Regions from separate parts of the Homo sapiens genome. Here region 1 is linked to region 2. Evidence: promoter capture Hi-C in human tissues and cell types (Jung and others, 2019). All regions are on one chromosome and are shown on one strand. Each heading gives the region's core, a stretch centred on a gene start or on the middle of the fragment in contact. The rest is flanking DNA. Distances are from core to core; before and after follow the strand shown. Region 1 has its middle 5.3 kb from the start of LRP6. Region 2 holds the start of DUSP16 (dual specificity phosphatase 16).

What was found. The method cuts DNA at HindIII sites, captures the fragments that hold promoters and counts their contacts. A contact is called where the count stands out against the background at its distance.
Region 1: a fragment that was not itself captured here is called in contact with the fragment with the promoter of DUSP16 in region 2 in 1 of the 25 tissues and cell types used here (hippocampus).

What each region holds. Positions count from the first base shown.
Region 1 is chr12:12,269,740-12,274,926 of GRCh38, reverse strand. No RefSeq gene overlaps it. Among named protein-coding and RNA genes, the nearest start is that of LRP6, 5.3 kb to the right of the region's middle. The HindIII fragment of the contact is 7,326 bases long and covers 1-5,187 here.
Region 2 is chr12:12,561,613-12,566,374 of GRCh38, reverse strand. DUSP16 (dual specificity phosphatase 16) reads left to right here and starts at 3,512. Exons shown (of 7, transcript NM_030640.3): 1 at 3,512-4,258. RefSeq lists silencers at 3,203-3,712, 4,163-4,242, 4,273-4,392, 4,413-4,612. The HindIII fragment of the contact is 19,289 bases long and covers 1-4,762 here.

The DNA.
Region 1 (5,187 bases), core at 845-3,344, 290 kb after region 2:
CCTTTTTCTTTTTTTTTTTGAGACGAGGTTTTGCTCTTGTTGCCCAGGCTGGAGTGCAATGGAGTGATTTCGGCTCACCGCAACCTCTGCCTGCCGGGTTCAAGCGATTCTCCTGTCTCAGCCTCCCGAGAAGCTGGGACTACAGGCATGTGCTACCACTCCTGGCTAATTTTGTATTTTTAGTAGAGACGGGGTTTCTCCATGTTGATCAGGCTGGTCTTGAACTCCGGACCTCAGGTGATCTGCCCACCTCGGCCTCCCAAAGTGCTGGGATTACTGGCGTGAGCCACCATGCCTGGCCCCAAAGTATACTTATTTTCTAATTATAGTGAATTCTTCTTAGGCATCTGATGTGATATTTTCATGGTGCAGCTAGGAACAAGTGTTATTCCCATTGAAGGAGGGAAAAATAGATGGGCCAGGCGCAGTGGCTCATGCCTGTAATCCCAGCACTTTGGGAGTCTGGAACACTTGTCCCTCAAGTCTGGATCACTTGAGGCTAGGAGTTTGAGACCAGCCTAGCCAACATGGCGTAACCCTGCCCCTACTAAAAATACAAAAAAAAAAAAAAAAAAGCCGGGTGCGGTGGCTCACACCTGTAGTCTCAGCACTTTGGGAGGCCGAGGCAGGCGGATCACGAGGTCAGGAGATTGAGACCATCCTGGCTAACACGGTGAAACCTTGTCTCTACTAAAAATACAAATAATTAGCCAGGCGTGGTGGCAGGCGCCTGTAGTCCCAGCTACTCGGGAGGCTGAGGCAGTAGGCGTGAACTGGGGAAGAGGAGCTTGCAGTGAGCTGACATAGCACCACTGCACTCCAGTCTGGGCGACAGAGCAAGACTGTCAAAAAAAAAGAAAGAAAAGAAAAGAAAAGAAAAAGAAAGAAGGCAGGGCACGGTGGCTCATGCCTGTAATCCCAGCACTTTGGGAGGCCGAGGTGGGCAGATCATGAGGCCAGGAGTTCGTGACCAGCCTAGCCAGCATGGTGAAACCCCATCTCTACTATTAAAAAAATAATAATAAAAAAATAAAAATAAAAAAAGGAAGAAAGAAAGACATTAGCCAGGCATGGTGGCACGCGCTTGTAATCCCAGCTACTTGGGAGGCTGAGACATAAGAATTGCTTGAACCCTGGAGGTGGAGGTTGGAGTGAGCCGAGGTCACACCACTGCATTCCAGCCTGGTGACAGAGAGAGACTCTGTCTCAAAAAAGAAAAAAGAAAAATAGAGGCAAGAAGGCCACTCTTCATGATATACACCACATTTCTGGTAGGGAGTTATAGCAGCATCCTCTGTGCTGTTAGAGGATCCTATAATGTGTCCTTTGTCAACTCCCTCTTCCATTCCCAGCTTCTCCAAACCTTTGTCACTTTCCTGACCTCCTCCCCGACCACCATATTCTTTCTTACTTCACTCTCAATGTAGACTTTGCTTTCTGTTTTTATGTAAATGAAGGCAATCAAATCTTGTCTCCACTATCCCTTCCCCATGAAACCTATTTATAGCTACTAGGGGCAGATTCAGGTTTTGTAGTGCTGAGCATATACAACTGGAGAAGGAGATATTTTAAAGAAAATGAATACTAAAACAATCTTGGTTTTGCAAGTAGTATAAAAACATATGACCATCCTAATCATTGCCATGGTCCCTCCCAAGGCCTCTGGAAGGAGTCTGTGAAAGTGGGAGTGGAGAAAGGAGAGCTGAAGGTCAAGCAGCCACACTGACTCTCCTCTCCTCCAGAAGTGGAAATCCTCCTGCTCCTCCTCCCATCCAAGGCTGATCCATTCTGCTAGGCTCCAGATCCTCTTGAAGTCTCTGAATCACTTTCCTCACTCTCCTTCTTTATTTGATCACTTACTTCAGGTTACAAATATGATCACATTCCTCTCAAACTTAAAAACAAAGTAAGCAATCAACCCTAACTAAGTCAACTCCCAGATTCCTCCAGCCTCACATTCCTTTCCAGCCACCCAAGTGTTCTCTTTCCTTTAACAATAAGATTTGGGAAAAACCACTGCCCTCCCTCCCTGTTTCCCCTTCATTTCTCAATTCACTGCACTTTTGCTTTGGATCTCATACCTCTGCTGAAACTGCTTTGGCTTAAAGTCACCAATGACTATTTTGTGCACTTTATCTGTGATTTTTTTTAAAAAGCAGGCTTCAGGTTCTTTTGATTAGGTTGAACCAGGAAAACTGTCATTTTTGTAGGCTTTTTTTTTTTTTTGAGATGGAGTCTCACTCTGTTGCCAGGCTGGAAAGCAGTGGCGCCATCTCGGCTCACTGCAACCTCCACCTCCGGGGTTCAAGCGATTCTCCTGCCTCAGCCTCCCAAGTAGCTGGGATTACAGGTGCCTGCCACCACACCCAGCTAATTTTTGTATTTTTAGTAGGGACAGGGGTTTCACCATGTTGCCCAGGCTAGTCTCAAACTCCAGACCTCAGGTGATCTGTCTGCCTCAGCCTCCCAAAGTGCTGGGATTACAGGCGTGAGCCACCGCGCCCGGCCAGCGTTTCAGTTTAAAGGTGTATGTATTTTACTCCCAGACTGATTTTCTAAAACACTGGCATAATGTATGTTCCCATCAATGACGTTCGAGAAAGTTATAGTCACAATGCCCTCTTTTCAGCACTTCTCACAGCAGACTCTCTGTTGTTAACAGTTAACACTGCATTTGCCATTACTAATCATACCTTCTTTAGTGGTAGCAATTTCTTTCTTTCTTTTTTTTTTTTGAGACAGAGTTTCACTCTTTTTGCCCAGGCTGGAGTGCAATGGCGCGATCTCGGCTCACTGCAACCTCTGCCTCCCGGGTTCAAGCGATTCTCCTGCCTCAGCCTCCCAAGTAGCTGGGATTACAGGCGCCTGCCACCATGACCGGCTAATTTTTTTTTTGTATTTTTAGTAGAGACGGGGTTTCACGATGTTGGCCAGGGTGGTCTCGATTTCTCGACCTCGTGATCCGTCTGCCTCGGCTTCCCAAAGTGCTGGGATTACAGGAGTGAGCCACCGTGCCCGGCCAGTGGTAGCAATTTCAATAAGTGTTTTTTTTTTTTTTTTTTTTGAGACAGAGTCTTACTCTGTTGCCCAGGCTGGAGTGTGCAGTGGTGTAATCTCGGCTCACTGCAACCTCCGCCTCCCAGGTTCATGCCATTGTCCTGCCTCATTCTCCCGAGTAGCTGGGACTACAGGCGCCCACCACCATGCCCGGCTAATTTTCTGTATTTTTAGTAGAGACGGGGTTTCACCGTGTTAGCCAGGATGGTCTGGGCCTCCTGACCTCGTGATCCGCCCACCTCGGCCTCCCAAAGTGCTGGGATTACAGGCGTGAGCCACCGCGCCCGGCCTTTTTTTTTTTTTTTTTTTTTTTCAGACAGAGTCGCACTCTGTTACCCAGGCTGGGTGGCAATGGCGTGATCTTGGCTCACTGCAACCTCCGCCTCCCGGGTTCAAGCAATTCTCCTGTCTCAGCCTCCTGAGTAGCTCGGATTACAGGCACGTGTTACCATGCCTGGCTAATTTTTCTGTTTTTAGTAGAGATGGGGTTTCACCATGTTAGCCGTGCCGGTTTCGGACTCCCGGCCTCAGATGATCCATCCACCTCGGCCTCCTAGAGTGCTGGGATTACAGGCGTGAGCCACCGCGCCCGGCCTCCACCTGGATGTTTCATAGACACCTCCAATACAAAAGAGCCATTGTTAAACTTATTACCCACTCCTTCTTGAAATACTTCTTAGGTTTTCTTTTCTTTGTAAAGGAGACTCCCATTACTCTCTGTTTCTCTCTCAATTCACAACTAAAAGTCCTGTTTTAATCTCGTATTCTTTAAATCCATGATGTCTTTTCAGTCCTCAGCGCTGCTGTCCTGATTGCCCCTTTCATAGACTTCTGTACAATGTGCAAAATTCTTCAATGTCCGCATTGTTAATATGCTAAAATCTAAACTTCTTAGCATGGCTTGAAAAGGTTTTTATTAATCAATAGCTATTTAATGGTCCTGCCTCAATTCCTGACATTCTCTAAAAGCATTCCATGCATCAGCTATATGAATCTACTTTCAAATCCCCAACATACTAAGTTCTCTAATGATTCAGTGTCTTTAAACCTACTATTGTGATTGAAATTTTTTTTCAGTCTTGTTGGCCTGGCAAAGTCTGATTTGTATTTCCAACCTCAGCGCTAGGGTTATTTTCCCTTCTTTTGTTTTGTTTTGTTTTGTTTTTTTGAGACAGAGTTTCACTCTGTTGCCCAGTCTGGAGTTCAGGGGCGCAATCTCGGCTCACTGCAACCTTCGCCTCCTGGGTTCAAGTGATTCCTGTGCCTCAGCCTCGTGAGTAGCTGGGATTAAAGTTGTGAGCCACTGCGCCTGGCCCTTTTTTCCCTTCTTTGAATTGTCTAGGCAGAAAAGCATCTCTACACTTAGCAATTTTGTCTTTTTTTTTTTTTTAGTTGGAGACAGGGTCTCACTGTATTGCCCAGGCTGGAGTGCAGTGGCAAGATCACAGCTCACTGCAGCATTGGCCTCCTAGGCTCAAGTGATCCTCCAACCTTAGCCTCCCGAATAGCTAGGACTCCAGGTACACGCCACCATGTCTAGCTAATTTTTGTATTTTTTGTAGAGATGGGGTTTCGCCATGTTGCCCAGGCTGGTCTCGAGCTCCTGGGCTCAAGTGATCTGCCCACTTTGACTTCCCAAAGTGCTGGGATTACAGTTGTATGCCACTGTGCCCTGCAGATTTTAATATTTTAATTACTCACTTTATTAATCAGTGTTTCCAAACTAGGCTGTAAGCTTCTTGAGGGTAGGGACTATGATTACTCTCATCTTTATATCCCCAACACTTAACAGAGTGATTGGTATCTGATTGGCACTTAAAAGAATGAGAAACAAAATTAGTTATGCAGTAATAATGGCATTCTCTCTAGGGCTTAAGCTTAACCTATAGATTTTCACTTAAGCATCTTTTAAAAATTTGTAGTAAATATATAGTACATTAAACAAAATTGAAGAACAGAAAAGCAAACTACATCTCATATTATTTCACCATCCTAATGCCTATTTTAGTGCACTTACTTTTGGTCTTTGCTCAAATATGTGCTATATATATGTGTGTGCATTTATGTTTGTATATTATATATATTTTTATTTTACATAGCTATAATCAAATGTACATGCACTTTCACTTT
Region 2 (4,762 bases), core at 2,263-4,762:
GGGCTCCTCACTTCCCAGTAGGGGCGGCCGGGCAGAGGCGCCCCTCACCTCCCGGACGGGGCGGCTGGCCAGGCGTGGGGCTGACCCCCCCACCTCCCTCCCAGACAGGGCGGCTGGCCTGGCGGGGGCTGAGCCCCACCTCCTTCCCGGACTGGGTGGCTGCCGGGCGGAGACGCTCCTCACTTCCCAGACGGGGTGGCTGCCGGGCGGAGGGGCTCCTCACTTCGCAGACGGGGCGGCTGCCGGGCGGAGGGTCTCCTCCCTTCTCAGACGGGGTGGCTGGGCAGAGACGCTCCTCACCTCCCAGACGGGGCGGCGGGGCAGAGGCGCTCCCCACATCTCAGACGATGGGCGGCCGGGCAGAGACGCTCCTCACTTCCTAGATGGGATGGCAGCCGGGAAGAGGCGCTCCTCACTTCCTAGATGGGATGGCGGCCGGGCAGAGACGCTCCTCACTTCCAGATGGGGCAGCCAGGCAGAGGGGCTCCTCACGTCCCAGACGATGGGCAGCCAGGCAGAGACGCTCCTCACTTCCCAGATGGGGTGGCGGCCGGGCAGAGGCTGCACTCTCAGCACTTTGGGAGGCCAAGGCAGGCGGCTGGGAGGTGGAGGTTGTAGCGAGCCGAGATCACGCCACTGCACTCCAGCCTGGGCACCATTGAGCACTGAGTGAACCAGACTCAGTCTGCAATCCCGGCACCTCAGGAGGCCGAGGCTGGCGGATCACTCACGGTTAGGAGCTGGAGACCAGCCCGGCCAACACAGCGAAACCCCGTCTCCACCAAAAAAATACGAAAACCAGTCAGGCGTGGCGGTGCGTGCCTGCAATCGCAGGCACTCAGCAGGCTAAGGCAGGAGAATCAGGCAGGGAGGTTGCAGTGAGCCGAGATGGCAGCAGTATAGTCCAGCTTCGGCTCGGCATCAGAGGGAGATCGTGGAAAGAGAGGGAGCGGGAGCGGGAGCGGGAGAGGGAGAGGGCTGTTTCCACATATTTATTGTTAGTATGTAGAAAACCTTTCTTAGTAAAAGAAAGAAATGTACTCTTCGGTGAAGTAAACTTGTTTAGTGGTTTCCCCTTCACCTGCTGGGCAGGTAACAATCTATTTATTCTAACATTCAAGTACCTCCACAATGTGCCTCTGTATCTCTTAAATTTAACCTCATACCTAATTGCTAAATACCGATTTCTACTGCTACTGGGTTTACTCTTCTGTCACTTGAATACACCTTACTCATTATTCATTCCACCTCCATGTCTTGGCTCATTGCCATTTGCCCTCTGGAATCTTCCCTCCACTGGCTTCTTCACTGCAAACTAAATCTGAACTGTCCTTCAAGGATAAGGTCAAAACTCTTTATAAGGTGCCTTCCCTGATAATCCCAGCCTACATTGCTCCTTTTCTCCCCTGATGTTTTTTTTTGTTTGTTTGTTTTTTTTTTTTTTTTTGAGATGGAGTCTCACTCTGTTGCCAGGCTGGAGTCTGGAGTGCAGTGGTGCGATCTCGGCTCATTGCAACCTCCACCTCCCGGGTTCAAGTGATTCTTCTGCCTCAGCCTCCTGAGTAGCTGGGACTACAGGCGCCCACCACCACGCCTGGCTAATTTTTGTATTTTTAGTAGAGACGGGGTTTCACCATGTTGGCCAGGATGGTCTCGATCTCTTGACCTCATGATCCACCCGCCTCGGGCCTCCCAAAGTGCTGGGATTATAGGCTTAAGCCACCACGCCCGGCCCCCTGACTCTTTTAACCAATATTGTACATCACTCAATCATTGATTTCGTTTTTAATGAGCTTTAATATACGTCTTGTTTCCAGAAATAGATGAAATACCCTGAGAGACTTCTATGATAGCTATGATGGCACCACATCATACATTACACAAACTTAATTGTGTAACTGAGGAAAGGGGAGAAACGTTTCAAGCCATGTCAGTTAAAGCAAGGTTACTGGAACTTTGGCATGCAAAGGGGATACCATTAATTCTCATGAATCTTTCCTCCAGGCAAGATCCATGCTCTGTACCACTAGTAAAAGGACTATCTTCTTCTTCCTTCCTAAAAATCCCAACACCTCCAACAAAGGTCTACAGTTAGATTTTTAGGGGTTTCCTGGTAGAGCACAAATAATCCCAAGGAAGCTGCAGTAACACCTCCTGGCCACCAGAGGACAGGGAGCAGTGGGAGAGATTTGCTTCCCCTAGCAAAGTCTTCAAGAGGCCAGAGGCACAGGCTCAAAGTTGCTTCTCCATCTGTGGCCTTCAGGCTTTACCTACTACTGCCAGAGGTGCTAGGGTGCCTCCCATCTTCAAATGGGCTTTTTTTTTCCCTCCTATAAAAGATGGGCCAGAAGTTCCCAGGGCCATACCCCGCAACACTAACCTTCAATGATTACCAATCATAAGGAATGCCTTTAGTTGCAGGACTTAAAGGCAGAAAAGTAGTAACAGGGGTGTATTATCTTTCGAACCCACCCAAACCTGCTTATCAGTTCTTTTGCTAGTGGAAAAACGTGCTTTAGGCAGGGTGCACATGGATATCCCACAGCAAACAGTGCCTTTAGGGTCTAGTGTCCCAATCCGGCACATTGTAAATGGAATATTTGAAGAGTTAGATTATTCCTACACATAAATTCTGGCTCATGGAGCAGTCCACTCGCAGGGTGCTTTTCCGTCATTAATCACATCTTTGTTATGTGATATCCACGTGAGTACTTCTCAGTAGAAGCAGCTTCATGCTCAAATGCTCAAAGAACATTGGAATAAAGCTCCGATTGTCCTATTCAGTGATTCCAAGTCCTGGTTTGTCACCACCTCAGGTCTCTCGTTTTCCAAAGTGCATAATGTCATCTCAAAACAGACATTTTAATGAATTCAAATAATAAAATGCACGAGGTATGTGGAGTTAAATCAACAAGGGTTTTGTACCTCTCAAGAGGCGGTTAACCCCTGGTCTTATTTAAAGATGTTTCTGCGCTGCCTCCTGTAGAAAACATTTTTAAAGAAAATGTAGGCTGCTTATCCTTGTATTTGTAAATATAAGCAAAGTAAAGTAATGTAGGAACATTTATGTGGGGGCTTTCAACCATAAACATATAGATAGCTGAATGCCTGACAACAGTAGTGTGATTTTTCTTGAAGTACCTGTAACTTCTCTCCTGAGAGATGGCAGAGCCTTGCCTTTTGCATTCGCCAGACTTTTTACAGAGCGAGTGTAATTCTCTCAAATCAGTGTTTGCGTTTTTTGACGTTGGTGAGGCAGCTGGAAACAGCTCAAGGAGGAGGGAAAGGTTCTGCGTCTGGGTGAGGGAGAAAACCCTCCGATACCTGTTGGGGCGCAGCACTGGAGGCGGACACCCCGGCCCGGGGGTCGGGGCCGCGAGCCCGGGGGTAGGGGGCGGGCGCGCGGGCGCGGGAGGAGGAGGAGGAGGAGGGAGAGGTGGGGGAGGAGGCCGCGGGGCCGCCTCCTCCGGCAGCTCCGGCTCCTCCCAGCGGCGCCCGCGGAACCTGCCTCAGAGTCGCCGGACTCTGGAAGGGAACATGACCTGACCCCTCCCCGAGCGGCCGGAACGAGGCGCGGAGCCGCGCTCCGGGCTCGGGCGGCCGCGGGATGGGCGAGCGCGCGGCCCCGCCCGGCGCCCACCGCCCTGCCCTCGCCTGTCTCCTCCTTTCCCCGGGGCTCCGCTGAGTTCATTCACTGGGATTGGTTTCAAGTGACGCCATCTCTTTATTTTTAAACCAATGACCTCATCCGCGCTTGAAGTTTCCTGACCAGCGACTCTTTCTCTTTCCCCCAACCCCCCACCCCACCCCCCCGCCTTTCCCCCTCTTTCTATGTATCAGTGTTTGGGGGGCTTTAATCAGTTTTTAAACGATTATTACCACCTCTCTCTCCCCCCCAACCCCCACTTTCACAACGCGGCCCCCCACCTTTACCTCCCTAAGTTCTTCATCTCTTTCGACATTTTTTTTGAAGGCTGATGGGGGGGAGGGTGGAAGAGAAAGAGTGAAGAAAAGTTGCGAGCGTCTCCTCTCTTCCTAAGCCTCCCGCCCCAACCCACCCCTCAGAGAAGGAGAAGATAATATACTGAAAAGAAGAGGAGGAGGAGAGCGACGGGACGGGACGCGAGCGGGAGCGCAGCCGCCCTCTCGGCTCCGCGGCGGCGCCTCGCAAGTCCGGGAGGCGAGGGGGGCCCGAGGGGAGACGCCGTGACAACTTTCGTTTCCCTCTGAGGGAATTGGGAGGTCGGCGGCCCCAAAAGTAAGTGGCCTTGGCGGGCCGCGCGGGGTGTGCGGGCGGGAGGGTGCGGGGCCCGGGGCGCCCTCCCGCCCGGCCGCATGGACGCTCCGCAGCGCGCCCCGACTCCCGGTGCCGGGCGCCGCGCTCCAGCCCCGCCGTCTCTGCCTTCCCGGGCGTACCGGCCACCCTTTCGGGAGGCGGCGTGGGGGCGACCGCGGCCGGGGGCCGCAGGAGCGTTTGAAGCGGGGGTGTAGGCCTGGCCGGAGGCTGGCCGGAGCGGGAAGGGGGCGTGCGGCCGGGCGCGGGGTCGCAGTGGGTGCGCTCCCGGCCGCTGCGCGGCGCTTGGACCGGGCCCCGCCGAGAGGAGCGGCCGCCGCGGGACGCGGCACCTTTGCGGGCGAAGCTGCTCACTTCCAGGCGCGACTGTTACACAACACGCCTGCCAAGTGGGGCCCTGGCCTGACTGTTCCCATTATCCCCAGTTCGCCTTTGGTGTAAGCAGCGAGGCCACCTGGGTGGTGACGG